Linked DNA regions of Homo sapiens: all the other regions are linked to region 2. Evidence: promoter capture Hi-C in 16 types of primary human blood cells and fetal thymus (Javierre and others, 2016). All regions are on one chromosome and are shown on one strand. The core of a region is centred on a gene start or on the middle of the fragment in contact, and the rest is flanking DNA. Distances in the headings are between cores, read along the strand shown.

What was found. Contacts are between HindIII fragments. The CHiCAGO score rates a contact against its expected background, and 5 or more counts as called.
Region 1: a contact is called between a fragment that was not itself captured here and the fragment with the promoter of BUB1B-PAK6 in region 2, in 6 of 17 cell types (M2 macrophages, M0 macrophages, M1 macrophages and 3 more). The highest score is 8.7, in M2 macrophages.
Region 3: a fragment that was not itself captured here is called in contact with the fragment with the promoter of BUB1B-PAK6 in region 2 in 3 of 17 cell types (naive B cells, total B cells and M1 macrophages); the score reaches 6.0 in naive B cells.
Region 4: a contact is called between a fragment that was not itself captured here and the fragment with the promoter of BUB1B-PAK6 in region 2, in 2 of 17 cell types (total B cells and naive B cells). The highest score is 6.8, in total B cells.
Region 5: a fragment that was not itself captured here is called in contact with the fragment with the promoter of BUB1B-PAK6 in region 2 in 1 of 17 cell types (total B cells); the score reaches 5.7 in total B cells.
Region 6: a contact is called between a fragment that was not itself captured here and the fragment with the promoter of BUB1B-PAK6 in region 2, in 4 of 17 cell types (total B cells, naive B cells, M0 macrophages and 1 more). The highest score is 8.0, in total B cells.

The regions. Positions count from the first base shown.
Region 1 is chr15:40,080,195-40,084,489 of GRCh38, reverse strand. LOC105370787 (a long non-coding RNA gene) reads left to right here and starts at 2,694. Exons shown (of 3, transcript NR_188231.1): 1 at 2,694-2,961. RefSeq lists enhancers at 1,722-1,841, 1,474-2,158. The HindIII fragment of the contact is 2,474 bases long and covers 470-2,943 here.
Region 2 is chr15:40,215,449-40,220,002 of GRCh38, reverse strand. BUB1B-PAK6 (BUB1B-PAK6 readthrough) reads right to left here and starts at 2,575. Exons shown (of 10, transcript NM_001128629.3): 1 at 2,336-2,575. BUB1B (BUB1 mitotic checkpoint serine/threonine kinase B) reads right to left here. Exons shown (of 23, transcript NM_001211.6): 21 at 2,336-2,507; 22 at 1,441-1,547. The region is part of intron 1 of LOC107984763 (a long non-coding RNA gene); the gene reads left to right. The HindIII fragment of the contact is 293 bases long and covers 2,472-2,764 here.
Region 3 is chr15:40,352,567-40,356,803 of GRCh38, reverse strand. PHGR1 (proline, histidine and glycine rich 1) reads right to left here. Exons shown (of 4, transcript NM_001145643.2): 2 at 3,537-3,572; 3 at 2,452-2,459; 4 at 370-731. The coding sequence starts at 3,546. The coding sequence ends at 501. Among named protein-coding and RNA genes, the nearest start is that of DISP2, 3.5 kb to the left of the region's middle. RefSeq lists an enhancer at 1,875-2,400. The HindIII fragment of the contact is 2,528 bases long and covers 1,523-4,050 here.
Region 4 is chr15:40,406,319-40,410,990 of GRCh38, reverse strand. It overlaps IVD (isovaleryl-CoA dehydrogenase), which reads right to left. Exons shown (of 12, transcript NM_002225.5): 2 at 3,266-3,355; 3 at 3,001-3,052; 4 at 194-363. Among named protein-coding and RNA genes, the nearest start is that of IVD, 2.9 kb to the right of the region's middle. RefSeq lists an enhancer at 3,492-3,991. The HindIII fragment of the contact is 993 bases long and covers 2,631-3,623 here.
Region 5 is chr15:40,014,291-40,019,022 of GRCh38, reverse strand. EIF2AK4 (eukaryotic translation initiation factor 2 alpha kinase 4) reads right to left here. Exons shown (of 39, transcript NM_001013703.4): 28 at 2,351-2,521; 29 at 1,781-1,915. Among named protein-coding and RNA genes, the nearest start is that of SRP14, 23 kb to the left of the region's middle. The HindIII fragment of the contact is 2,964 bases long and covers 1,602-4,565 here.
Region 6 is chr15:40,059,011-40,063,437 of GRCh38, reverse strand. All of the region lies in intron 2 of SRP14-DT (SRP14 divergent transcript), which reads right to left. Among named protein-coding and RNA genes, the nearest start is that of SRP14-DT, 22 kb to the right of the region's middle. RefSeq lists enhancers at 88-923, 1,798-1,857. The HindIII fragment of the contact is 258 bases long and covers 2,904-3,161 here.

The DNA.
Region 1 (4,295 bases), core at 457-2,956, 130 kb after region 2:
GTTCAAGCAATTCTCCTGCCTCAGCCTCCCGAGTAGCTGAGATTACAGGCGCCCACCACCACTCCCGGCTAATTTTTTGTATTTTTAGTAGAGATGGGGTTTCACCATGTTGGCCAGGCTGGTCTCGAACTCCTGGACTCAAGTGATCCACCTGCCTTGGCCTCCCAAAATGCTGGGATTACAGGCGTGAGCCACCATCCCCAGCTTCGCAGTATTTTGTGTTTTGTTTTGTTTTGTTTTGGTCAGGTCTCGAACTCTTTTGAGATTCTGCTGAATTAAGATAGCAATCCTCTCTTAGGGAAAAGGCATATGACATGCTCAGACTCAAGAATTTTTGCATAAGATTTCAGGAAAATTATTGAGTCTCTGAACCTGTCACTTGGTCCCCAGGCTTCAGGATTATGGTTTTCTTTGTAAAGGAAAAAGCAAAAGAACAAGTACTGCAAAAACTTAGAAACCAAAGCAAGCTTTTTCTTCATTGCGCTCCTGACTTTCCTCATACTCCAGGCAGTTACTGCTGTCGCATGTACATTTCACCCTGTGTACACGGTGATGGAGGATGGTGCAATCTCTGGGGGCACGTGTGTTTATTGTACTGCATTCTTGATTTTGGAGATGTACACTTCCTGTCAGCACATTCAGAGACTGAGGCTGTGAAAATGGTCCTGTCCTTTTGGAGGTCACAACTTCAGCCCAGAGAGAGTATTTGTAGCCACAATGGGCTTTGCAGCCTTCTATCTTATCCAGCTGGAAGACGGGCAAGGAACCTGGGGTGCTTTTCCATGAGCTCAGAAAGGGGCTTCAGAGGTTCATGCAAAATGAACTGGTGGGGAGTGGTCAGCCCTTGGAGGGGTAGGAAAACATGGTTGGGGACTGTGGAAGACCCGGGAGTGGACAGGGGCAAAGGCCTGGGAGTTCTGGGCAACCCTGATAAAAGCTGCTTGTTTTGCACCTGAGTGAGCCCAGGGTTCTGCCCCATGATTCCGTCTGTGAAGTGGAGAGGGTTTGGTGCCTGGTGGCAACCTCATTTCTAACACAGCATTATGTTTGCCAAGTACCCTTTAGCCCAATTTCATAGGTACTGAGCCCTTGAGTACCGATTTCATAGGTGCTGAACACACACACACACACACACACACACACACACACACACACTCACACGCTTGAGAGGGCTGGCTACTATTCTAAAAAGCAACCACAAAAAAAATTCATCAGCCCCCGAGTCTGGTAGATCAAAGGCTGGGGTCAGGAGCCTCTTGCCCGAGCACCAGGGCTTGGTACTGCCTCAATATTCTGCAGTTTACGGCCATTCTAGACCCATAATTTCCATGATTCCTCTGTGAAATGTAGAGAAGAACTGATGACACTTCACAGACTGGGGAAACCAAAATACACCTGTAAGACTGGATTTCATACCATTAAGGACCAACAAATTTCCCTTTTACCTCTTACCACCGATGGTCACCATTTACTCAGTACAACTGTCACCATTTTCTTGACTACCAATGGACATTATTGTGTGAGTGGCTTTTTTACATGTCTGGATGGACCGAAGGCCCTTGTGTGGGCAGGCACTGATCTGTCTCATTTACCACTGTAGCCCCGCTATCCAACAAAGAACCTGACACTTGCAAGGAGCTCAGCAATCTTCATGTAAGCAAAGAGTGAAGAATACTAGTGGGAGGAAGTGTGAGTGCTCGTGGCGTGATGTTCAGCAAGGCGTGCCACTCACTGCCGCCCTCACGTCTGAACTCCTGAGCAGTCCCACGGGGCGAGGGCAAAATGAACCTTGTTTCCTTTCCTCCTCCTGCCAAAGTCCGAAAGTCACATTCTGCAGACTTTCAGGAAATTTGACTTGCTCACTTCAGTAGGGTTCAATGCAGCAATTTCTGGGTGGAAGTGGAGTTGGGGGAAGGGCACGCTGGCACTGAGGCAGGTGGGCTCTGAGCAGTGTAGGCTGGTGAGCCAGGCTGAGGGCCACCTCCTTGCTCAGTGCCAGCAGAGCCCACGCTCACCAAATGTCCATGGTTCCGAAGCACCTTGGTGAAGGATGACACCAGTGGGCTCTGGTGCCTGAGGGTGTGGCCAGGGTGGGCTGAATCAGTGGCATGGCAGCTTCCCTCTGGCAGGGTCCTGCCAACTACCAGCCTCCCTGCTCCTGAGGAAGCAGAACCAGGGGAGGTGTGGTCCAGGCTGCCCTGCTATCTCCTGCGGTTCATCCCAGCCATCCAGGAGGAGAAGGGGTGTGTGTGAGGGGAGCAGCAGCACAGAAATAGCCTGCAGTGTTTAGAAGGGAGGACCCCAAGGAAGTGCCCAGGCTAATCGACCAAAAACTCCTGCTGGGACATTGCTCTTGCTTCCAGTTGCTTCGGTCTGCCTCTCATCTCAACTCTGGCTACAGAAATATGTGTGTCCCTTCGCAAGCTCGCTGTTTTATTTTTAAAAGTATTCTGCTCTACTGTGAGCCATGAACAGAAGCTCCCCTTGTGGAACAAAGAGTTAATCTCCCTGCAGTGGCATCCTGTCAGCCCCTCGGAACCTGTGTCAGCGTTCTCCTTCCCGCTCCCCCTGTGGACTGCCTCTGGCTCACTCGCTGCACACAAAGGCTCCTCTGTTTCTGGCCGGGCTGGAGTCACATGCTTTCACTCTTAACCCCGGAGCTTTAAAGCTAAACACCCACCCTCTTTGGCCCCAGATGACCCTGTTTACGTCTGCTGAGCCAATTCCAAACAGCAACAGTAGTGAAAACTTCTGTCGGGAGAGACTTCTCAACTACTGGTGTAGAGAGAACAAATCTTCACTTTGTATAATGCGAGGACTTTAAGAAGTTTTGGGAAATGGCTGAGAGGAAAAAAACACAAGGAAGCCAGCAGCCTGCCCCAACTTCTCTATTTTCTAAAGTATCTCTTACCAGAGACCCCCGGTGGGGCTCGGGATAAAGCTTGCAAGAAACAGAAAATGGTGAGCAGTTTTCATGGCTGAGGGGAAGAACATTCTAGATTTTCCTGATAGCCTACTTTGTTTAACCCTTAAGGAAAGTGACATTTTCTTTTTTAAGTTTAAAAAAAAATTATTTTTCAAAGGGCTATTCTCTTTGCTTCATGTCACTGAGGATGGGAAAGAAATATTCCCTTTCCTGGGTTTGGGGAATGACCTGTGAAACTGTGGAGGCTTCTGGAGAGGAGGGCTGGGCCAATCCATTTCAAAGTTCTGGTTGGGGAAGACTTGTGTTTTTGTTTTTACCCTAAAGTTTCCTTTTTCTTTTCTTCTTCTTCTTCTTCTTCTTTTTTTTTTTTCTCTCTCCCAGTTTATGGGTAGTAGCCCATGTTAGCCGTAAAGGAAGTCAAGTTTCCTTTGATTGTTCTTGCCCTGATCAAAGTGGCAGACAGTGGAAGGGAAAATACCAGAGCCCCAAAATGATGGTAACTCTGGAGTCCCGAGATTAGGTATTTGTGAACAGTACAGATAACAGAATTGGTCAGGTGCCTGCTAGTCTCATGTCCATCCCTGAAGAAAGTAATGGAGTAGTGTAGATTAGAATCAAGCAAGTCAGTTCCACGTCCTCGGGGCTAGTGGAATTCCTTAGGCAGGGGATGACAAATAAGTTTCATCTCTAGCGATAATGAGAAACTGGCAGCCAGCTGTATTGGGAAGGTTTCTGATGCTACATCCAGGCTTAGCCCAAAAGAGTACCATGACCAAAGAGCAATGTCTACTGGGCATGGGAGGAGGAAACAACCTCACATATTTGATGTCCCTTATCTAGCACAATTTCAGAAAGTTAGACTGTCATATATGTGCAAAGATAAGTAGAAAACAGTCAGCCCCAGAAAAGAAATGGTAGACAGAATGAGAGAAGTAACTAGAGACAGTGATGCTTGCTAAACATTGTATTTAGTCCTGTATATTAGGTGAACCATTTGACAAGTTCCAGACAATGAAATATAAGCAGAAATGATGCAGATCACCTCTGGGCTAAGACAGAAAATACCCACGTGCCCTTCTTTACTTTCCTCTTTCCTTGTTCCAGTGATTGAAGAGGCCCCTTGTTCCAATAGCACAACTACAAAATGAAATAGCCTTTTTCATCCTGTGTCCTTAAGTGACTATGTGGAACCATGTCCCTGCCAACCTGGAATGAACATGCAGCAGAGAGAGAAGTCAATGTTTTTTTGTGTCCACTGAAATTTGGGGGTTGCTTTATTACTGCAGCATACCCTGGCCTATCCTGAATAATATAGTAGTCAAAGAGGAACAATTTTTTTTCTCTTTACATTTTGTGTCCATATTAGAGA
Region 2 (4,554 bases), core at 1,326-3,825:
CCTGGACCATAGCCAAGTGGACATGCCTATATCCATCCTATATGTCTTACATTGTATTTCAAGCCTATTTTTAAAAGTTCATGTAAGAGACAACACTGGCCAAGTTCTGAATTAAATGAAGAGAAAAGTACAATTCAATTATTCAAAGATGAAAATAGAGAAGGGGCATTAAATCTTCAACACTCATTTTTTTTTTTAACCAAAGAATATAACAATAGGTGACAGGCTGGGAACTTATTTGCTAAGATAAGCTAAAGTGGAACGTAGATACTTAGTTTTTTTTGAGACGGAGTCTCACTCTGTTGCCCTGGGTGGAGTGCAGTGGCGCGATCTCAGCTCACTGCAACCTCTGCCTCCCAGGTTCAAGTGATTCCCGTGCCTCAGCTTCCCAAGTAGCTAGGATTACAGGCATGTGCCACCACACCCAGCTAATTTTCTTGTATTTTGAGTAGAGACAAGGTTTCGCCATGTTGCCCAGGCTGCTCTCAAACTCCTGACCTCAGGTAATCTGCCTCGGCCTCCCAAAGTGCTGTGATTACAGGTGTGAGCCACCATGCCCGGCTGACTTAGTAAGTTTTATGAGCAGGCTTGAGGGAGTACTAAGGTTCTGAGACCAAGCAGTGCTTATTAAGAGACCACTTACTTCTTCTCCAGGAGAGTCAGTTATCTGGTTTGGTTCTATCCACTTATTAAATAAAAAATAGCCTAAAATTAGCATATAGTTTAGAAATGTAAGTCTTTTCAAAGGATGCTTATTAACTTTTGGTAATAATTGCTATTAAAAAGGAATTTAGGCCAGACACGGTGGCTCACACCTGTAATCCTAGCACTTTGGGAGGCCGAGGCGGGCGGATCACAAGGTCAGGAGTTCGAGATCAGCCTGGCCAACGTAGTGAAACCGCATCTCTACTAAAAATACAAAAATGAGCCAGGCATGGTGGCGCACGCCTGTAATCCCAGCTACTCAGGAGGCTGAAGCAGGAGAATCACTTGAACCTGGGAGGCAGAGGTTGCAGTGAGCCGAGATCATGCCACTGCACTCCAGCCTGGGCAACAGAGCGAGACTCCGTCTCAAAAAATAAATAAATAAAGAAAAAGGAATTTAAGGCTAACACCAATTAGTTAGAAAATTATTCTCATGAAATGCTTCTTTTCACATATCTAAACAGGGAAGCTTCCATACTATAGCTGTAGTCTGGAAGATACAGCTAGATTCAGAATGATGTCCTGAAGTCTGAATAGTTTTGAATCTTATTTTTAGTAAGCAGTTCCTTTTTCCTGCACTAGCTGCTCTGCTGATACTCTAATGAAAACTGGCTGAAACTACTGGAACCATGGCATTTGGATTAAAAAACTAAGGCTGCCAAAGCAGAGATAGCACCCAAGAGAAACAGAAAATTATTGGGACAGGCAGAGACCCTGACATTCATCAATACTTACTCAGAAATATTTTGGCTAAGTTTCCAGAAGGACCCATCCCAGAAGACCTGTAGGTGTTCCTTGAACAATAGTAAATGTGCTAAATCTGCTATACCAAACAGGTCTACCTGAAATCACAAAAAGCACCATCAGCTAAAATAATTCTCTGCCTCTACCATGGCAGCTTATTTCGGTAGGAAGTTGAAAGGTATTACAGTGCTTAACTAAGTTTATTTTATGACATACATTTTAGTAGACTGTTCCTCACCCTTACAGTAAAGGGAGAAGCTCTCCAAAGAAGTGATCAATAGAGCCAATTCTAGGAATTATCCTTAAGAACAAAAGATGAAATATTTGGACTATCACATTCAAATTTGTAGACCTACTGAGTTTGCATGAACTCCAGCTGTGATCTAAATGGGGTCCACATGATTAGTTCAGGTTTGTGCTACATATTCAATCAGCAAATGTCTTATGTCTAAAGCTGAGTTAGAAGGAATTTCTGCATATAATGCCACCATACAAAAGACTTTACATTTGTGCTAATGTTCTTTTTATATACATTACTTCATTTACTCCTCATAACAATTCTGATAAACACATAGCAGAGACTGTTATCCCTATTTTACAGAGAAGATCACAGAAAATGACTTATAAAAGATTACATGGGTGGTAGGCAGTAGGAGTGGCCCTGGCACTCGGTTACAGAGTTAGTCATGTGTTTGCACATGTATGTGTATATTCTTCAATGCTGTAACACAAAAATGTTACATTTTACTTGACTTGGTGATATTTGAAAACTAGGTCATCTATTCTAGGAGTCGGTATCAGTAAACAGTAGCTTTTATAGCTTATCTAGATAATAAAGAGATTAAGAAACCCTCTCCATATTTGCTCAGGCTTGTTTTACACTTACCTGGTAGGGAGAAGAACAGTTAGCCAGGATCTTTTGTCCTTCCAGGATCTGTACAGTCCGAAAGCCGCTGAGGGTAAAAACATCCAGCTGCACCCTAAGGTCAACACTGTAGGAAAAGTCCACTATCTTCAAAGCTTGATTGTTCTTGTTACAATCATAGGGATCGTGGATTCTGAGCCCAGATTTAAGAGAAGGAGATAATAAAAATAGGCCATGAAAGAAGCTGCATAGCTGGTCTTTAAAAAAAAAAGGTACCTTGGGTACATCTTAGCTATGCCAACAACTCCCTCCAGTGGTTAATTTTGAAAATGCACCTGTAAGACAGAGCAGTGGCAGTGTCCACCCAATGCGGAAGGAATGTCACCACTTTGGTGACACAAAGTATATTTCAATCACGGTGCATGGCCACCATTAAACATTTATCAAGCTTCCATATTATATAAAGTAAGTATGGAAGCAGAGCACAGGCTTCTTCCCTGTACTGTACACATTAACACATACAATTGCAATGATTTATACACTGACAGGAATTATGATGGAGGAAATTAAAATTTTATAGGTGTCATAGCCTTTCTTGTTTACTATTCCAGATAGGCTTTCCAAGTATTGTTTAGATTCTTCCTTCCAGAGTTTAATGGAAAACAATGCAAGTCTGTTTTATAAAGTCCTATCTGTATTGTAAAATTTCTTGTAAAACACCATATTTTATCTTACTCTTACTTGTAATTCCAGTTATTTACTAAAAAAATCTTTATAATACTAATTAATTATCAATTAATTTTGTTTTCCTTGGGTTTATCTATCCTATGCAATAATGCTATTCTCCAAGGGGACATAGGAACTGTTTATAAATGAAAAGAGTGGGTTTTCATGTGTTCCTTTTGTCTGTTTTTCTCAATTAATTCCCTCAAACTCCTGATATTGGTGCAATATTCCTAAATACAGTCTTTAACTACTCCAATTACATACCTCCACGGCACAGAATGATCTATGTATTTTACTTTAAAATTGATAATTGCTCTCATTTTTCCTTGGCACAAGAGCCAACCTTTTTTGGCCACCATAAAACTATACTATAATTAAAAAAAAAAAAAAATATATATATATATATATATATATAGTATATATATAGTTATAGGGATCGTGGATTCTGATATATATAAAATATACATATGTATTTTATATATATATGTAAAGTGTGTGCATGTGTGTGTTTTGTTTGGTTTCTTAGACAAGGTCTACACTCTTGTCACTGAGGCTGGAGTACAGTGGTGCGATCTCAGCTCAGTGCAGTCTCTGCCTCCTAGGTTCAAGCGATCCTCCCATCTCAGCCTCCCGAGTAGCTGGGACTACTGGTGTGTGCCACCATGCCTGGCTAATTTCTTAATTTTTTGTAGAGATGAGGTCTCATTATATTGCCCAGACTGGTCTTGAACTCCTAGGCTCAAGTGATCCTCTGCCTTGGTCTCCCAAAGTGCTGGGATTACAGATGTGAGTCACCATGCCCAGTGTAATTGTAAAATATTTATATAACTTTGGAGGCATAGGGAAAAAATGTCTCATAGATTAATAAAAAGAAGCATGCATGAAGGTGTCCTAGCCCTCTAATCAGCTACTCACTCACTGTTACTTTGGGTAGGACATTCCATTTTTTTGGATCTCATTTTCCTCACAAAAAATATGCAGAAACTAAAGTAAGCAACTAAACTAAGCAATTTCAAAAGGTTCTTTCTGGCTTTTATTTTATTTTTGTAGAGACAGGGTCTTGCTATGTTGACCAGGCTGGTCTTGAACTCCTGGCCTCAAGAGATCCTCCTGCCTCTGCCTCCCAAAGTGCTGGGATTGCAGATGTGAACCACTGCATCCAGCCCTTTCTGGCTTTTGTTGTTGTTTTGTTTTGAGATGGAGTCTCGCTCTGTCACCCAGGCTGGAGTGCAGTGGCATGATCTTGGCTCACTGCAAGCTCTGCCTCCCGGGTTCACGCCATTCTCCTGCCTCAGCCTCCTGAGTAGCTGGGACTACAGGCACCTGCCACCACGGCTGGCTATCTTGTTGTATTTTTAGTAGAGACAGGGTTTCACTGTGTTAGCCAGGATGGTCTTGATCTCCTGACCTCGTGATCCGCCCGCCTCGGCCTCCCAAAATGCTGGGATTACAGGCGTGAGCTACTGCGCCCGGCCTCTGGCTTTTTTTTTGAGACAGAATTTTGCTCTTGTTGC
Region 3 (4,237 bases), core at 1,537-4,036, 140 kb before region 2:
ACCTGTGCAAACAAAGGTAAGGGGGCTGGAAAGTTCAGTGTATTTTAAGGGAATGGTGAGAAACCATCTGGATTGGAGGGAGGCTTCTGGTCTGTAGAGTGAGGCATGCAAGCTGCAACCTTGGAAGGCCCACCAGATCTGGATGTACAGGATGGCATAGAGGTAATGAGGCCACACTTGAAGTTCCTCGATGGGAGGGCACAGGAGTGAAAAGGAAAGGAGAGGTGACCTTACACAGCCATTTATAGTGAGCACCATGGCATTAAGCTTCTGAGAATGCCAGGATGGTTGCCCCATCTTCACAACTAGGGAGCTTGGAGACAACTGGGTCCTCTGACAGCCAGGTTGGATATGAAGGAAGACAGGCTCTTTAAAGAATAGAATGTGGCCTCTAGGAGGCTGTTTATTAGGAAGAGAAGATTGTGGTTTAGGCCTCATTCCAGGTCAGCTGGGCAATTCTCTCAGGCTTGCCATCTTGTGTCCTGTTTTCTTCTACTTCCTCAGTGATGTGGACCAGGGGGTGGGTGACCTGGGCCATGGCCAGGGGGAGGCCCGCAGGGCCCTGGACCATGGTGGGGGGGTGGCCCGCAGGGCCCTGGGCCATGGCCAGGGGGTGGCCCGCAGGGCCCTGGACCATGGTGGGGGGGTGGCCCGCAGGGCCCTGGGCCATGGCCAGGGGGTGGCCCGCAGTGACCTGGAGGATGGCCATGCCCCCCACAGTGGCAGTGCCCCTGTGGAAAGTCAAATGAACAATGTCAGAGTCAGAGGTCAGGGCTAAGCTTACCTGAGATCAGCTCTCCCTCACTCCACTTCCCTGGGGGACTCAGGATTTCTAGGCAAGTAAGGAGTTGCGGTGGAGGGCTGGGGGCATGGGTAGCATGTCCCGTGCCTTTTGCCTTGGTGAGGCCAGAACACTGAGCAGATAAAAGGCAAGCAACCTAGATTTATTGGTTTCTATTCTTTGAGCCAAGATATGACTCCCGCTCCCTGTACCTCGATTTATTTTATTTGCAACTAAGAAGCAGAATTATTTCATCTTCTCCTTTCTCTCACCCAGGAACCCTTGCAGAGTGATTAGAGGCTTTGCCATGCTAGGAACTGCAGGCTCATTGTACTTAGGAGCAAGGGTGAGGCTAGAGGAGGCTACAGAAGAGCTCTTTGAAGGCCAGGGGCAGGGGGAGACAGGAGGCTGGGTCAGGGGAGATGAAAGAGCTGAGGAGGGGAAGAAGGAAGACAGTTGGAGGATGAGAAGACACGGAGGGTAGGAGGTGGCAAGGTGAGGATGTATGTATTCTTTTTATAGGTAGTGTGTATGTGTGTAGACGGTGTGTGCCATATTTATATAAAATAGCTATGTTTGTGTACGTGTGCATGGGTGGGTTCATATTCAAGCTTGGTATGTACACAGATACGTGCATGGAGTGCATGGTTCTGTGTACATGAGTATGTGCGAGCTCATACCTGTTCCTGAGCGGATGCCAGACCCAAGAAATCAGGAAGAATAGAAAGTAAAATCAAAGCTTTTCTGCCTCAGTCAGAAGAGGTCTGGAAAAAGTGTGGTTTAACCTTCCATCTTGGCTGGAATCATTCCTGAAGTCCCAAGGCCAGGGGAGTTTTTTGTTTTTTTTTTGTTTTTTTAACTTTTTGCCACAAGCCCAGGGGGCAGGCAAGAGATACCACCTTGCTTCTGTGGTAGGGGACTCGGGGTCTGGGGCCCTGTGGAGCAGGGCGGGGCTATGCTCCCACTGTCTGGGCTGGATAACTCCCCAGTCTCCTTCTGCCTCCTAGGGCTTGATTAGGGCTTGGTACCAGTGGGGAAGAGGCAGGCTCCAGGGCTGGGCGCTTTCCTGTGACCATGGTAGAGCAGCCCCTGCCCCATCCAGGCTCAGTGATGCCTGGAAACAGCCACTTCCCACCCCACCTGCCTCTCTGCCTATGGCTCTTTTGTTTGGGGGTTGGCACACAGACCAGGCCTAGGAACTGAGTCTGCTGGTGGTAGCCAGTGGGTGAGAAGAGGTGGAGGAGACGCAGTCTCCTTTCTCTGGCAGGAGTAGGTCCTAGGGGCCCCATAGTGTGGTTGGAGTTTGGGAGCAAGCCAGCTATCCAGCAAGGCTGTGGGGGTAGCCAGGAAAGCAGAAAAGCATAGCACAGGCGGGGAAGCAGCAGGAGAGAGGATGGGCTGCTAGGGCAGGGAGGGGACGTGAGGAAAGGAGAGAGACAGATGGGAAAACAGAGGAGAGAACGCCAAGAAGGCTGCAGCCAGCAGGGGGTGGAGGAGTGCAGCGCTGCCCACCCCACCCCCACTCCACGGGGCTGCTGCCTGAGCCTGCTCCCTTCTTTTCATTTGGGGGAAGTGGTGGCTGCTCCCTGAGGGTCTAGGAAGGAGGCTAGGGGTCTGGAGGACATGACAGTGGGAGGAAAAAGGGGAGACCATTGGGGGAACTTTCCTACCTTCGGACCTGTGGGAGAGGAAGGGAAAAAAAAGAAGCAGCTTTGGTCATTTGGTTCTGCAGTAAAAAAAAACCTGTCTTCTCCCTGGCACTAAGGATTTTGTGCCCACACCCCTAACCCAACAGGGCCTCTCAGACATGGTCACTTGCCTGACAATCATTCCTTCATTCATTCTCTCAGCAAAGATACATATTGGAAGTCAATATAAGGTTCAGCAGTGTGTCCCTGTGTGCTCAAGGGCTGGCTGAGTCCTCCTGGGTGGAGTGGCGCCAGTTAGGAGGTATGGGTTCTTGTCTCAACTCTGTCAGCCTGGAGGTGCTCCATGGTGGCCAACCCTGTCATCCACCTGATTCTTGCTTCTACCTCCAGGCCAGCAGCCCTGCCAACCTCCCCATCTGTCCTCTGCCCCTGTCACGCCCCACGTATCTCGGCCCAATCTCTGCTCAGCCTCTCAGAGCTGTTTGTTGTCTCCTGTTTATGACCTTCTGTTCTCAGCTCTTGGCCTTTGCTCATGCCTCCTCCCACTTGGAAATCTCCCTGGAGCAGCTGCGTGTTGCCCTCATGCAGGAAATCCACATGGGAGCCATCCAGGCTGCCCAGCTGTGGGTCCACTGGGCTCCTGCAGCACCCACCTGAGTGGTCCTGCATGTTCTGAAGTGCCCCATTGGTGTGGGAATCACCTGCTACTTCTTAAAGGCTAGGACGGTCTTTTGTTCATTTCGAGGGAAGCCGATGGCACAGCTCCCAAGAACTGGATTCTGGATTCCGACCCAGCTGCACCTCTATGGCCTTTCCCTGAGCATAACCCCTAGCTCCCCTGGGCCTTGAGTGTGCGGTGGGAGAAGCACCTACCCTTAGAAGCACCTAAGAACATGATGAGTAAGCATGCTTTTTAAACTGTAACATGTTCTACAGTATGTAAGGGCTTGTCTTCATTGTGGACCCCTACCACTGCCTTCATACAAACACACACGCACGTACATTTTTGGCACGCACTAGTTATGGCTGACTGATAGTCCCTGCCTTTACCGCTCTCCTGCTCTCTCCCTTCTTCCAATTCCCAGCCTCTCAGCCACAGTGCTTACCTGGGTCCATCTTTTTGGAGTAAGAGCAGGGAATACCTGTGTTCAAAAGGTAACTTTTAATTTACTGTAATCTAAATTGCAGTCTTTCCTTTCTCCCTCCCACGGATGCGCGCGCGCGCGCACACACACACACACACACACACACACACACACACACCCTTCAAAGGAAGAAAGGGAAAAAACTGCTCCCTCCGGCTTAGCTTGGCCCCAATATAGAGCTGGCACTGTAGGTGCCAGGCATGGGGGTTAAATGGACACAGCGGGTTCACCTACATGGTGGGTAGATGGAGACACAACAGCACCATGTACCAGCCCCTACACCCCATACTCTTACACTTGCCCCCCTAGACTCAACAATTGTGTGTTAATCCGATTCCTCTTGGGAAGATTTCAATATCCGTTCATTTGCTAATTATTCATGTTGTGTGTCTGCCCTGTGCCAGGTCATGGTATGCTTGTCCCTACAGACTCTTGTCTTGTGTAAACATCTGGCATGGCATGGGAGCAGGAAGCTTGGAGCTATCAGTGTGCCCAGTGCAGGGACGGGAAGGATGGTTTGCTAGGACAGGAATGGGGTTGGTGGCCCCTGAGGGCACAAGTGAATGGATTTTTGCCCTGGGGCTCAAGTGAATGGAAAGCCTTCCATGGGGTCCTAGCTGCTTGTACCTGTCTCCTCCCACCAGGATTGGAAGGGGGTGGGA
Region 4 (4,672 bases), core at 1,878-4,377, 190 kb before region 2:
AAGAGTTCTGGTCCTATTTTTATTATTTTTGGCTCAAGTATTTTAAAGCAATCCATGGCCCCTTCCTAACCACATTTGGTTCATGGCAGCATGCTACAGAAAGCAGGTCTGACTGGCCCCCAAGGGGAGAGGGTATCTTTTAGTTGGTGGTTGCACTGTGAGATTAGCGTGTATTACATTTCCATTTCCTCACCTTCGGGAGATACTTCTCTTTCTGGGCCTCATTCCCATTGCGTACAAGCTGGTTGATGCAGAGGTTGGAGTGGGCACCGTAACTGAGCCCCACTGCTCCGGAAGCTCGGGATATCTCCTCCATCACCAGCACATGCTCCAGGTAGCCCAGGCCGGAGCCGCCATACTGAACTGTGAGTGGTGTGGTACAAGGGAGTGGAAAACGCAGCCCAGATTAAATCGGGACATTCATTAAGAATCTTACATTTGACGGCAGAAGGGAAGCACCTTGTAGCACCTACTCCAAATTCTCTCTAGCAACAAGAATAAGCTGATGCCACAGACCTGCTTACAAGCTCAGTGGACTGGTTTTGCCTGCTGGTGCTCCTCAGCTGAGGGGTGATTCAGAAGGCAATCATTGCAACTTCTGCTTTATCCCAGACAGACTTCTTGATGAAGATACGTGAACAACCTGAGCACCCACTACTCAGAAAGTTACAGAAATGCAGAGGCAGATGAATAAATGAAGAAAGAGGGCCTGGAGAAAAACAAAGGCATTGGGGTGGAGGTGGTGTCCAAAGCACCAAGAACAGATACAAAGCCAGAGGATCTGATGTGTCTGCAAAAGGCCTGAGGAAGGTGAGATTTTATAGCATAGGGCTGAACCCAAAGAAGCAGGACTGGAGGCCAGGCATGGGGCTCACGCCTGTAATCCCAGCACTTTGGGAGGCTGAGGTGGGCAGATCACGAGGTCAGGAGATCAAGACCATCCTGGCTAACACGGTGAAACCCCGTCTCTACTAAAAATACAAAAAATTAGCCGGGCATGGTGGCGGGCGCCTGTAGTCCCAGCTACTCGGGAGGCTGAAGCAGGAGAATGGTGTGAACCTGGCAGGTGGAGCTTGCAGAGAGCCGAGATCGCGCCACTGCACTCCAGCCTGGGCGACAGAGTGAGATTCTGTCTCAAAAAAAAAAAAAAAAAAAGAAAGAAGCAGGACTGGTGACAGGACAGGAGAGCCACAGCCTCAGGGAAAATCTTGAGGTGAGCTGTACAGCAGAGGGCAGATGAGATGCTGGCAGAGAATTTCAGAACTCCTCATAAAATATACGGTTTTTCCTTGGCAGCAGATCCAAACTCCAAGTGGCTGAGACACCTGATACCACCCCCAGCCCTGCTGATTGGGTCAAGCCTAGCAAGGTCCTATACACATGTTCACTCTGACCAATAAGTCAGGCTCGTTCTAGGCTCTAAGGAAACCTTGACCTGCCCCTACAACTGCAGGAAGGAAAGCCTGAAGGCAGGTGACATTAGAAACAGCCACCATGACATCATGCAGAAACCAGAACTTGTAACCAGCTTTCTTTTTCAGGTTCCCTTGAAAGAGTTTTCATCTGATTTCTTTTCTTTTTTTTTTTCAAGAGGCGGGCTCTCACTCTCTTATCCAGGCTGGGGTGCAATGGTGTAACCATGGCTCATTGCAGCCTTGAACTCCTGGGCTCAAGCGATCCTCCTGCCTTGGCCTCCCGAGTCACTCGGATTATAGGAGCCCACTACCACACCTGGCCATTTTCATCTGATTTCTAACTGCCTCTTTCTTCCGTAAAATACAATCTGATTCAGAAGCATATTGTCTGCAGGGAGTGGGGTACATAAACCCCCAAAACACAGTAGGAGAGTCTTGCTTAGGAGTACCCAGCAGCCTTTCCCCTAATGCTTTTACATTAAGATGGTTTCAATTAATCTTCAAGTGGTTTCATTTTATGAAAGGTGATATAACTTTCTAGGATGTAAGGAGAAGTATATTGGGTTCCACTCATACTCTCATGCCCAGAGTGAATACAGGCCCAAGCAGGCTGGGCTTTTTTTTTTGAAACGGAGTTTCGCTCCGTTGCCCAGGCTGGAGTGCAGTGGCACAATCTCAGCTCACTGCAACCTCCGCCTCCCAGGTTCAAGCAATTCTCCTGCCTCAGCCTCCCGAGTAGCTGGGATTACAGGGATGTACCACCATGACCAGCTAATTTTGTATTTTTAGTAGAGACAGAGTTTCTCCATGTTGGTCAGGCTGGTCTCGAACTCACGACCGCAGGTGATCCACCTGCCTCGGCCTCCCAAAGTGCTGGGATTACAGGTGTGAGCAACCACGCCTGGCCTAGGCTCATCTCTTTACCGGGCACTGCAAGCCAGTCTGGGCCTCTTTCAGACGTTAATATCATCCAAACCAGAGCCTGCTAGCTCCCTGCCTTCTCCCTCCGGACAGCCTATTAAACACATCATCTGGCCACCTCACCTGGAAGCCCAGATAGACATCTCTCTCCCCTGCCCAGCCCCTACCCTACTCCCCCCGCTATCTGCTCCCAAATGAGCTCCAAGGTTTAAGCAGAAGAGGACACAGGCAGTCCCTGCAGGGACACACCTGCCCAGAGTGTTCCTGCCGAGAGGCCACTGGTAGGACAAAGCTTATAGGGATTAGGGGAGGCAGTAAGACTGAGGTACTATGAAGACAACCACTTGATCCAGAGTTTTCTAAACTTCCCAAATCACCTGGGTGAGCCTATTAAGTATGCAGAGTTCAAGAGTTGGACTGATCCTGATCCAAGTGAGCCACAATGACCTAATTAATCCCTCTGCCTTCTCTACATCACTGTCTAATAAAATAGAAGAGTGTCCTGTTCTCTGGGCTGACAATCAATGGGTGCTTTCACAGGTCCAAAAGATGCAGTTCTGGGTTTCTTTAAGCACAATCTTTCCCTTCCCTTCCTGCTTCTTTTGGGAACTGTCTTAAAGGGCACATAAGAAAAGTTCTTTTTAGGGAAAGACACTATACTCACCAGGGGCTGTGATGCCCAATACGCCCAGGTTCCCCAGCTGCTTCCAAAATTCCTGCCAACAGAATGGAGCAGAGTGGAATAAGTGTTGAGGGGAAGGCAGCCAGTCACATGTGGCTGGAACAATGAGACCCAAACACTTCAGAGAGAGGGGCTGCATTCTTAGAGAGGCTTCATTTACCAGAAAACTGTGTGAGCTCTTCCAGGCAGCAGTGCAGCTCAGCCCCACTCCCTGACTGCCCCCGACTGCCCGGACCTCCCAACTCACTCGCAGGTTCTTGAACTCATTGCTGCGATCGATCTCCTGGGCCTTGGGGGCCAGGTGCTCCTGAAGGAACTTAGCCATGGTCTGACGAAGCTAATAGGAGAGAGGTAAACAGATGCCACTGCAGACAGCATCTCCACTACCCAGACACATTCAAGAGAAAAGGCCACAAGTAACTTCCCCAAACAGCATCAGACTGAAACTGAGAGGCCTCAGTAGTTTATGCCTCCTCAGAGATGATCTTCACCCCTCTTTCTTAAGGTCTTCAGCCTAGACAGCTTGATGGTAATTTTTAAAACGTCACACTTTACATAAAAATCATTCCATTGGTTTCCACTGTACTTAGAATAAAACACAAGCTTCTCACCCAGGCCTACTAGGCCCTGCAGGAGCTGACCCCAGCTGACTCTCCTAGCTTCCCCAGCACCTTCCCACCTCCCACCCTCTGTGCTCCAGCTGCATTCCAGGCAGCTGCCAGATCTCAATAGTTGTCAGGCTCTTTTAAGCCCCCGAACCTTTGGCTAAAAGGGTCTGATTACCCAAAGAGATTAGAAACGCCTCTTGGCGGCTGGGCATGGTGGCTCATGCCTGTAATCCCAGCACTTTGGGAGGCCGAGGCAGGAGGATCACCTGAGGTTGGGAGTTTGAGACCAGCCTGACCAACATGGAGAAACTCCGTCTCTACTAAAAACACAAAATTAGCCGGGCGTGGTGGTGCATGCCTGTAATCCCAGCTACCTGGGAGGCTGAGGCAGGAGAATCACTTGAACCCGGGAGGCGGACGTTGTGGTGAGCGGAGATCGCGCCATTACACTCCAGCCTGGGCAACAAGAGTGAAACTCCGTCTCAAAAAAAAAAAAAAAAGAAAAAAGAAAAGAAACTCCTCTTGCCAGGAAAGCTTGAGAATAGGGATTGAACCCTTTCCACTTGAGGTGGTTCACGGAAGCTCTGAGCGCTCGCTGGCTATAAACATAAACTACGGAGTTGCTGGGAGGCTCATACCTCCGCCAACTCCATCCAGCCTCCAAGTGAAACCTCAGGAAGGACTCTGGTTCTGCTCCATTTGTAAATACTACTTCGTCTTCTTTTCTATTTTTTATGAGATGGGGGTCTGGCTATGTTGCTTAGGCTGATCTCAAACCCCTGAGCTCAAACAATCCTCCCACCTCGGCCTCCCAAAGTGCTAGGATTACAGGTGTGAGCCACGGCGCCTGGCCTCCAACTACTTCTTTCAAGTACTTGTTCAACTTTTGTGTTTTGACCCAATGGGCTGAAGAGCGACAGGAGAGCTCACTGTGGCTTTTTAAAACCCCCAAACTGTTTATACAAAAAAGACTCCCTGGTGATTACGATGACCACCCAGGTGTGAGAAGCATACCTCAGCCTGTTCAGGTGTAAGTGAACTACATA
Region 5 (4,732 bases), core at 1,834-4,333, 200 kb after region 2:
TAAAGAGTGAGCACTCTGTCAGCAGCTCATCATCAAAGAGTTCAACAAAAAGAAATGTGTGTGTGTAGTAAAATAGAGAAGCAAGCACACATGCAAATTTAGAAAAAATATTAACAAATGTTTCATCTAACTCTGCACTGTTCAATATGGCAGCCACTAGTCACAAGTGACTACTGAGTATTTGAAATATGGCTAATCCAAATTGACACATGCTGTACATGTAAAACACATACTGGCTGCAAAGACTTTGAAAAAAATGTAAAATCCTTGTTAATAATTTTTAGAAGTTTGAGTACATGTTGAAATAATATTTTGGATATACTAAGTTAAATAAGATATATTATAAAATTAATACCACTTGTCTCCTTTTACTTAATGTTACTAAATAATTTAAAATTACAGGTCAGGTGTGGTGGCTCACACCCGCAATCCCAGTGCTTTGAAAGGCCAAGGCAGGAGGATTGCTTGCAGCCAGGAGTGTGAGATCAGCCTGGACAAAAATGTCCCATAACCTCAAGGACATTTGTGTCACTGGGGTCATAGAAGGAGAGAAAAAAGAGTGTGAGACTGAAAAAAAAAATCAAAGAATGCCTGAAAAAATCCTCCAAATTCGCAAAAGACATAAACCTATAGATTTAAGAAGCTAAGCAAACCCTAAACAGGATAAATCCAAAGAAACTCATGCCAAGACACATCATGATTTAATTTGAAACTAAAGACAAAGAAAATAATCTTTAAAGCATCAAGTCAGAAATAACTTTCCTATAGGGGAAAAGTAACTCAAATAACAGCAAATTTCTCATCACAAACCAGAAATTTGGGGTAAATACAATAGACCTTCTTCTCCCCTTGAGTTTTATAATTATATTTAACAGTAAAGTAAAAAATTTAACACTGTTTGATGTGGATCTCAATGTATTAGAAGAAATATTTAAGACAATTATATTATAAATGGGGCATGAGGTAAAGAGACATACAGGGAGATAAAGTTTCTACATTTCATTTGAATTGATAAGATGTTGATACCCATAAATCTCTGTGGTGATGGAATAGTTCTGTACCTTGATTATGGTGGTTGTTGAGGGAAAGTACACGTGATAAAATGGAGAAGAATGATGCACATACATTATACAAATGTCAATTTTCTGGTTTTGATATTTTACTGTACTTATGCAAGGGGTGGTGTGGTGGCTCACACCTATAATCCCAGCACTCTGAGAGGCTGAGGTGGGTGGATTGCTTGAGCTCAGGAGTTTGAGACCAGCCTGGGCAACATGGCAAAACCCTGTCTCTACTGAAAATACAAAAAATTAGCTGGGTGTGGTGGTGCATGCCTGTAGTCTCAGCTACTCGGGAGGCTAAGGTGAGAGAATCATTTGAGCCCAGGGAGGTCGAGGCTGCTGTGAGCCAAGATTGCGCCATTGCACTCCAGCCTGGGTGACAGAGCAAGGCCCTGTCTCCAAAATACATATATATATATATATATATATATATATATATATATATATATATATATATATAGAAACAGAGTAAAGGGTACATGAGCCCTCTCAGTACTATCTTTGCAACTATCTTGCAAAATAATATAATTGTTTTAAGCTTAAACAACTACAAATGTGGTTCACATTATATTTCTATTCCTAGATGAAACATATATTAATAGAAGTATCCAATGATATTACTGGTTCAAATTTTTGGTGTTAGTTTGAAAATTTCAAAATAACAAGTTTAGAAGAAATAAAATTAAGTCAGAGCAAATAAATAAAGGGCAAGCCCTCACCAGCAGGTCATATCTGCCTCCAGCTGCGAGGATTTCAGGTACAGCCCTTTGCCTTCGTTTGATGAAAGCCACAAACTGGAAGATGATTCCATTGTGCTGCTGCACCTTGTAAACCAAGCCCAAATTGATCAAGACCTATAAAGAGAGATGCCACACAAATGTGTCAAGGGTTTGAAATTTAGAATGTGGAATATAATGCTGAAAATGGTGTTTCCCATCAATAGCATCAGAACAATCTATTTAGCATAAACAAAATATTCAGTAAGATCTAGCTCAAAGTCTGTTTAACCATAGCCTGACAAGTAAAATAAATTCTCTTCTCTTTAAGAATAACCACCTCTCTGAGGCTAACATAGTAAGAACTGCTTCATGATAGGAACAGTGGCACTTGCAAAGAAATCCTGATTTAAGCCAAAATTATTACTAAATATCAAATGCTCCAAAACACAGAAAGCAGTTTTTCTGGAAAAATAAAACACTAACTAGCATTAGTGAAATGAAACACATTTCCTCCCTGTGCTATTAGTAATGCTACACATTTGTACTGCCAGTATCAAACTGTTGCCAAACCTGTAACTTGATGCCGAGTTTCTTCAACAGTCCAACAACCTCCTCTAGGTCTTTTAAGCCATACTTCACCAACTGTGCAATACCTGTTTTCTGTTTTATTAATGAATTTATTGTTGGCATAAGATCTTGCAAATCTCCCTTCTGTTCAATAAACTTGTAGAGTCGACACAGCTGGAAAGCAAAGGGGCACAGTCAGCTGCCCATCCACAGCAGGGGAAGACTCCCTTTGCACCGACTGTGTGCACCTGCAGGAGCAGGAGCACATGGGATGCTACGATTATCTTTGTGGTCAAAGATTATTTTAGGCTTTGCCACAATCCTGACTAAGGATTATCCTTTTCCAACAACTTGAAAGCACCTTGCAGGAATGCTTTAGACACATACTCATGGTTCACTTTTATTCAGATACATTTACTCACACTTAATGCTGACCCCAGCAAAGCAGACCCTGGCACTAGCAGAGCTTCCATTATCTATTTTCAGGCCAGTATTTTTCCTCTTTACCTTTCTTATTCTCATGAATTCCTGTTACTGCAGGCATAGACATGGGGGGACAATAAGGCAAAGTCTGACTTGTTTTAATACAGAATTAGCTAGAAATTCCCTTCCTTGGCTTGAATCATTCCTATTTGCAACCTTGAGATGTCTTCTCCTGTGGGCAGCCTCCTGATCCTCCCTTCCCTCTCCTCCCACCTGGATGCCAGATCCTGGCTGTCACCAGCTGTACTCATAGACTGCCCCAGAAGAGGTCAGTGGCTAGAGATGATTGATCTCACAGTCCCTGGTACTCAGCTGGAGTAAGAGGAAACAACCATAGTCATAAAGCCAGAAAGAAAACTCCCAGGAGCTAAAGTAGAAATTATTAAGAAACAAAATTATAGCCATTTTAAGACTGTAGGCAAGTACAACCTAGTTCATCCATAAATTGGCACATGAAACCTAAGGGCTAAATGAAGGCTCAGATTGACATAGCTTAATCTTAGAGTTAATCATAAATCACTTAAATTTTTAAAAAACCCAAAAAATGTTAAAACCTCCTATAATCTTGATATGGTTTGGCTGTGTCCCTACTCAAATCTCATCTTGAATTGTAGCTCCTACAATTCCCATGTGTCATGGGAGGGATCCAGTGGGAGGTAACTGAATCATGTGGGCGGGTCCTTCCCATGATAGTCTCATGATAGTGAATAAGTCTCACAAGATCTGATGGTTTTATAAAGAGGAGTTTCCCTGCACAAGTTCTCTCTCTTTGCCTGCTGCCAACCATGTAAGACATGACTTGTTCCTCTTTGCTTTCCACCATGATTGTGAGGCCTCCTCAGCCACAGAGAACTGTGAGTTCATTAAACCTCTTTCCTTTATAAATTACGCAGTTTCGTGTATGTCTTTATTAGCAGCACGAGAACAAACTAATACAGTAAATTGGTACCGGTAGAGTTGGGCTGTAAAGATACCCAAAAATGTGGAAGTGACTTTGGAACTGGGTAACAGGCAGAGGTTGGAACAGTTTGGAGGGCTCAGAAGAAGACAGGAAAATGGGGGAAAGTTTGGAACTTCCTAGAGACTTGTTGAATGGCTTTGACCAAAATGCTGATAATGATGTGGTCAATGAAATCCAGGCTGAGGTGGTCTCAGATGGAGATGAGGAACTTGTTGGGAACTGAAGTAAAGGTGATTCTTGCTATGTTTTAGCAAAGAGACTGGCAGAATTTTGCCCCTGCCCTAGAGATTTGTGAAACTTTGAACTTGAGGGAGATGATTTTGGGTACCTGGCAGAATAAATTTCTAAGCAACAAAGCATCAAGAGGTGACTTGGGTGCTGTTAAGACCATTCAGTTTTAAAAGGAAAACAGAGCATAAAAATTCAGAAAATTTGCAGCCTGACAATGAGACAGGAAAGAAAACCCCATTCTCTGAGGAAAAATTCAAGCCAGCGGCAGAAATTTGCATAAGTAACAAGGAGCCAAGTGTTAATCACCAAAACAATGGGGAAAATGTCTCCAGGGCATGTCAGAGGTCTTCATGGCAGGCCCTCCCATCACAGGCCTGGAGGCCTAGGAGGAAAAAATGGTTTCGTGGGCTGGCCCCAGGGCCCCCCTCCTCTATGTAGCTTAGGGACTTGGTGCCCTGTGTCTAAGCTGCTCCACCCATGGCTAAAGGGGGCCAAGGTATGTACAGCTCAGGCTGTTGCTTCAGAGGGTTCAAGCCCCAAGCTTTGGCAGCTTCCATGTGCTGTTGAGCCTGCAGATGCACGGAAAACAAGAATTGAGGTTTGGGAACCTCCGCCTAGATTACAGAGGATGTATGGAAACGCCTGGATGCCCAGGCAGAAGTTTGCTGCAGGGGTGGGGCTCTTATGGAGAACCTCTGCTAGGGCAGTGC
Region 6 (4,427 bases), core at 1,783-4,282, 160 kb after region 2:
AGTGCATGGAGCATTTTGGAGCCAGGGAGGAGGAAGAGGGCAGGCCTTGGCTATGCCTCTCAGCGATGCTGACAGCAGGAGGGTGGTTAATACAAAGCCAGGGCTTAGCTACAAGTCGGGAGGGCTGAGGAGACAGGAGCTAGAAGAAGTCAGGGAAAGAAGGAGACAGAGGCCAGGATTTGCACAGCTAAGAGAGACCTCCTCTCCTCTCTATTTTATAGATAAGGAAAATCATGACCATTTTGCCCAATGTTACGTCATGGTTTGTAGGAAAGATTTGGATGAGAATCTAGTCTCCGGAGTGCCTGCTCGACTTTCCTTCCAATACCCAAAGCTGCCCTCTCCTCCCACCCCGAACACTCAGTGTCTGGCAAGGCCCCTCCAACGCCAATATCACTGCCTCACTGTGGTCCATGGCCCGTGGGCCCTGGCTGGAGGAGGAGCTGGCGTGAGCAGGGGTACCCACTTGCCCAAGAGAGACCTTCAGGAGAGCCCATCATGCCCTGTGGCCTTGTGTCCCTAGACACCTCCAGAAGCCTGACACTGTTGTTCATCCTTCACCCCCAAGACTTTCACCCCCATGTAGCTCTATTCCCCTAATCTGACACAATCCCCCAGATCCTTTCACTCTGCTCTCGGGAACTTATGGTTTGTCATCAGCAAAATCTCCCCATCCACTCGACTTTCCCTTTGAACATTCCTTTCACCATCCTGTTCTACTGCAAACCTGCCTGACCCCCACACACAGCTTCCTTGCAGCCACCTCCTGTCTTGGCTCTGTTTTCTTCTTCCACATCAGTATGCCTGGAGGCAGCGAGTTGTCCTCCCTGCTTTCATGGCCACCTGTAGGTTTCTCCCCCTTCCTCCTCAGCCTAAGTCTGCATCTCCTTTGCAGCTATGCCATCAGACCAGACCATCCACCATCCCTTCTAGTATTTACCATACTCTAGGCCACTCCTGCTCATTCACAGATTTTAGTACCTGGCCCACGGTCTTCCTCTCCACCACCACTCCTCCATGCTTTTCCTAGACCTTAACATTAATTCATTCTTTTGTCCAGCACATGTTTCTGAGCACCTAATCTGTGCCAGGTATGTTCTTAGAAAAGAGTTTATAAGTGTAGACCAGAGAGAAAATGTCCCTGCCCTCAGATGCTTACATTCTGATGGCAGCAAGGATAATTAACCAATGAACCAGTCCTACGTAAAATAATGTTAGACAGAGGGGCTATGAAAGGAAAAGGCAGATGAAGGGGTAGTGGCAGGATGGGGAGCTGTTTAAGAGATGGTGGACAAGGAAGGTCATCCATGTAGATGTCCACCCAGCACCTCCCACTCTTGGTCTTTGGCCTCCTCACTCTCCACCTCTCGTTCTGCTGCCTGGGCCTCCCACTCCCATGGCCAGGGTTTTGCCTCAGCACTTCTGAACCCCCTGCTCCCTGACCACCCCTTCCTCGGCTCTCAGCTTATCTACTCTATTACCTCCATTCAATGATGTGTCCCCTTTGGGAACTCCCTGCCTTTGAACTTGTCCTTTTTCACTGCCTTCAACCCCCTTCTCCAGCTCAATTCTGTAGGCCTTGACAAGAATCACCCATTTGTGGAAGCCCTCTCCTTTCTTGCTCTTTTCCCTTCATTTGGAATCTCCTGACACAGCCTCCACCCTGCTTAAACCCAACACCCTGCACCTGCACTGAGTAGCTGAGCATTGCCGGGGAAACTCACAGTCATACTGAATAGCCGCACTTGACGCTTCTGACCACAAACTTCAAGTGGGCGCTCAGCTTGCCCAGTAATCTTACTATATTTCTCTACTAAATTCACTGCGCCACTCTCCAGATAAGTGTTTCACATCTTCTCCAACCCTCAACACCTTCCCTTAGTTTCTCGCTGTTAGTTAAAGATCTTGCTTCTTATTTTGCTGAGAAACTAAATGTCATCTGCTGGAACGTACGTGCCTCTCACCATCAGATCTCCCAAGGTGCCTGCATCTATGCCCGCTGCTACCTTTCTTCCTCACAATGGATGCATGCATGGATAGATGGATGGATGGATGGATGGACGGAAGGATAGATGGACAGACGGACAGATGGATGGATGGATGGATGGGTGGACAGACGGACGGACGGACAGACGGATGGATGGACAGACAGATGGACAGATGGATAGATGGATGGACAGATGGAGGGATGGCCTCCTCTTGCATCCCTGGCCAATCCCTTCATTTTGTGCACCATATCCCTTCACTTACTCAAGACTGCCTGAAATCACCTTTCTCCCTCCTGCACTATCCAGCTCCTTCTCTCTGCCAGACCATTCCCTTCGGCACATAACTGCGCTATGATCTCTCTCACTTTCAAAACAAACTCTTCCTTGACCCTACACCCTCTTCAGCTTCTGCTCCACTTCCTCCTCCCTTTTACGCACCCCTCCTTGAAGTGGTTGTCCCTGCTGGCTACTTCTCCGAATCTTCACCTCCATTCCCTCTTAGCCTACACCAGCCAAGTTTTTGTTTCTGTCACTCCATTGAAACTGCCCTTGTCCAAGTCACCAGTGACCTCCTACTGGCGCATCCAAAAGGTCTGTCTCCTGGTCTCACCTCCTCAATTTCTCAGCAGCGTTTGCACAGTAGGGCACTCGCTCCTCCTTGCAACGCTGTCTTTCTTTGGAGTCCAGGACTCCACACTGGTCTGGCTTCCTCCTACCCGGATGGCAGCTCTTTCTCTGGCTCCTTCGCTGGCTCCTCCTCTTCTTGATCTCTAAATGTGAGCATGGTGTGGGGACTTTTTTCTTATTTACAGTCTCTCCCGGTTAGATGGTTAGATTCCATCTAGGCCTGTGCCTTTAAATGTCCTCTAGAGGTTGGGATCTTTGAGAGGCAACATGGAAGCGAGTAGAGAAGCTTGCCGGGGTGTGAACCCCTGCTCTGCCCCTGGTGAGCATGCCCCTGGTGTGATGTTGTTGCTGTTAAATTCTCCATGTAAGATCAGATCTTACATGGGGCCTGAGACAAAGGCTTAAGCATGAGTAGTTTATTTGGGAACATGATCCCAGGGAGCAGGGGTGAGGGGGAGGAGGAATGAAACAGAGAAAGGGGGGAGTCAATATGGGAGTGTGTTAACATCTCTCTGAGTGAACACCACTCAGTCTTTCTGTGAAGCTTTATGAAACGTACTTCAGAACTCACTGGAAGAAGGGGGACAGTTATCCATTGGCTCCTCTCGAGTCATCCCATGGAATGTTAGCTCCCCTTCACTTCTGGGCGGCTCATGTGTTAATGCCAAGCAGGTTCCATGGGTGTCCCCCCATCATGGTGTTGGGCGAGAGGCATGTGGAGAGGCCCTGCCAGGCGACATTTACACGGCACTGGTCAAGACCTGTGCAAAACTGGTCACTGGGGCAATGGCTGGAACAAGAGGTGAGGCCGCGGGCATCTGAAATGGCACACAGGATACGCCCCCTATGGACAGGGATAGCTACAGCTCTCGCCTCATAGGTTACTGAGAAGACTAAATGATTTAATGTATGTGTTTGGAGGAGTGCCCAGCTCTTAGCAGTGACCATCTACATGGTGGTAACCCTGCCCTGACATCCCGTCTGCCTAGTGGACACCTCGGAGGCCTGTCATGTTCAAAACAGAACTCGTATGCCCCGTCCCTCCGCTTGTCCAACTATTCCTCCAGTCTTTTCACTGCAGTTAAATGGCCAGGATTCATCTCTCTCTCCCACCCCTCACAACCAATTATCAAACTCTAGCTTCAAAAAATACCCCAGTCTGGCCTTTTCATTAATCCTCATCACAAAGTGACCCACCCAGGCCAAGTCACTATTGCTCCTTGCCTGGCCGACTGCACTAGCTTCCCAACCATCTCCTGCCCCCACTCTCCCCTCCCTACAGTTTGTTCTCCCACAACAGCCTGAGTGAGAATGTTACTGCTGATTAAATCACCCTCTAACAGCTTCCTATTATCCTTTTTATAATTTTTTAAAATCCTTTTTTAAAAAATAACAAGGCTGGGCATAGTGGCTCACGCTTATAATCCTAGCACTTTGAGAGGCCAAGGCAGGAGGATCACTCAAGCCTAGGAGTTTGAGGCTAGCTTGGACAATATAGTGAGACCCCTGTCTCTACAAAAAAAAAAAAAACACCTTAAAAATTAGCTGGGTATGGTGGTGCATGCACCTATAGTCCCAGTTACTTAGGAGGCTGAGGTAGGAGGATCACTTGAGCCTGGGAGGTCGAGGCTGCAGTGAGCTGTGATTGTGTCACGTCACTGCACTCCAGCCTAGGCGACAGAACAAGATCCTGTCTCAAAATAAATAAATGAATAAATAAATAAATCAGCTTTATTGAGATGTAATTCACATATCATATAATTCACCCACTGAAAGTATACAATTCAATGGGCTTTTTTTTTTTTTTGTATA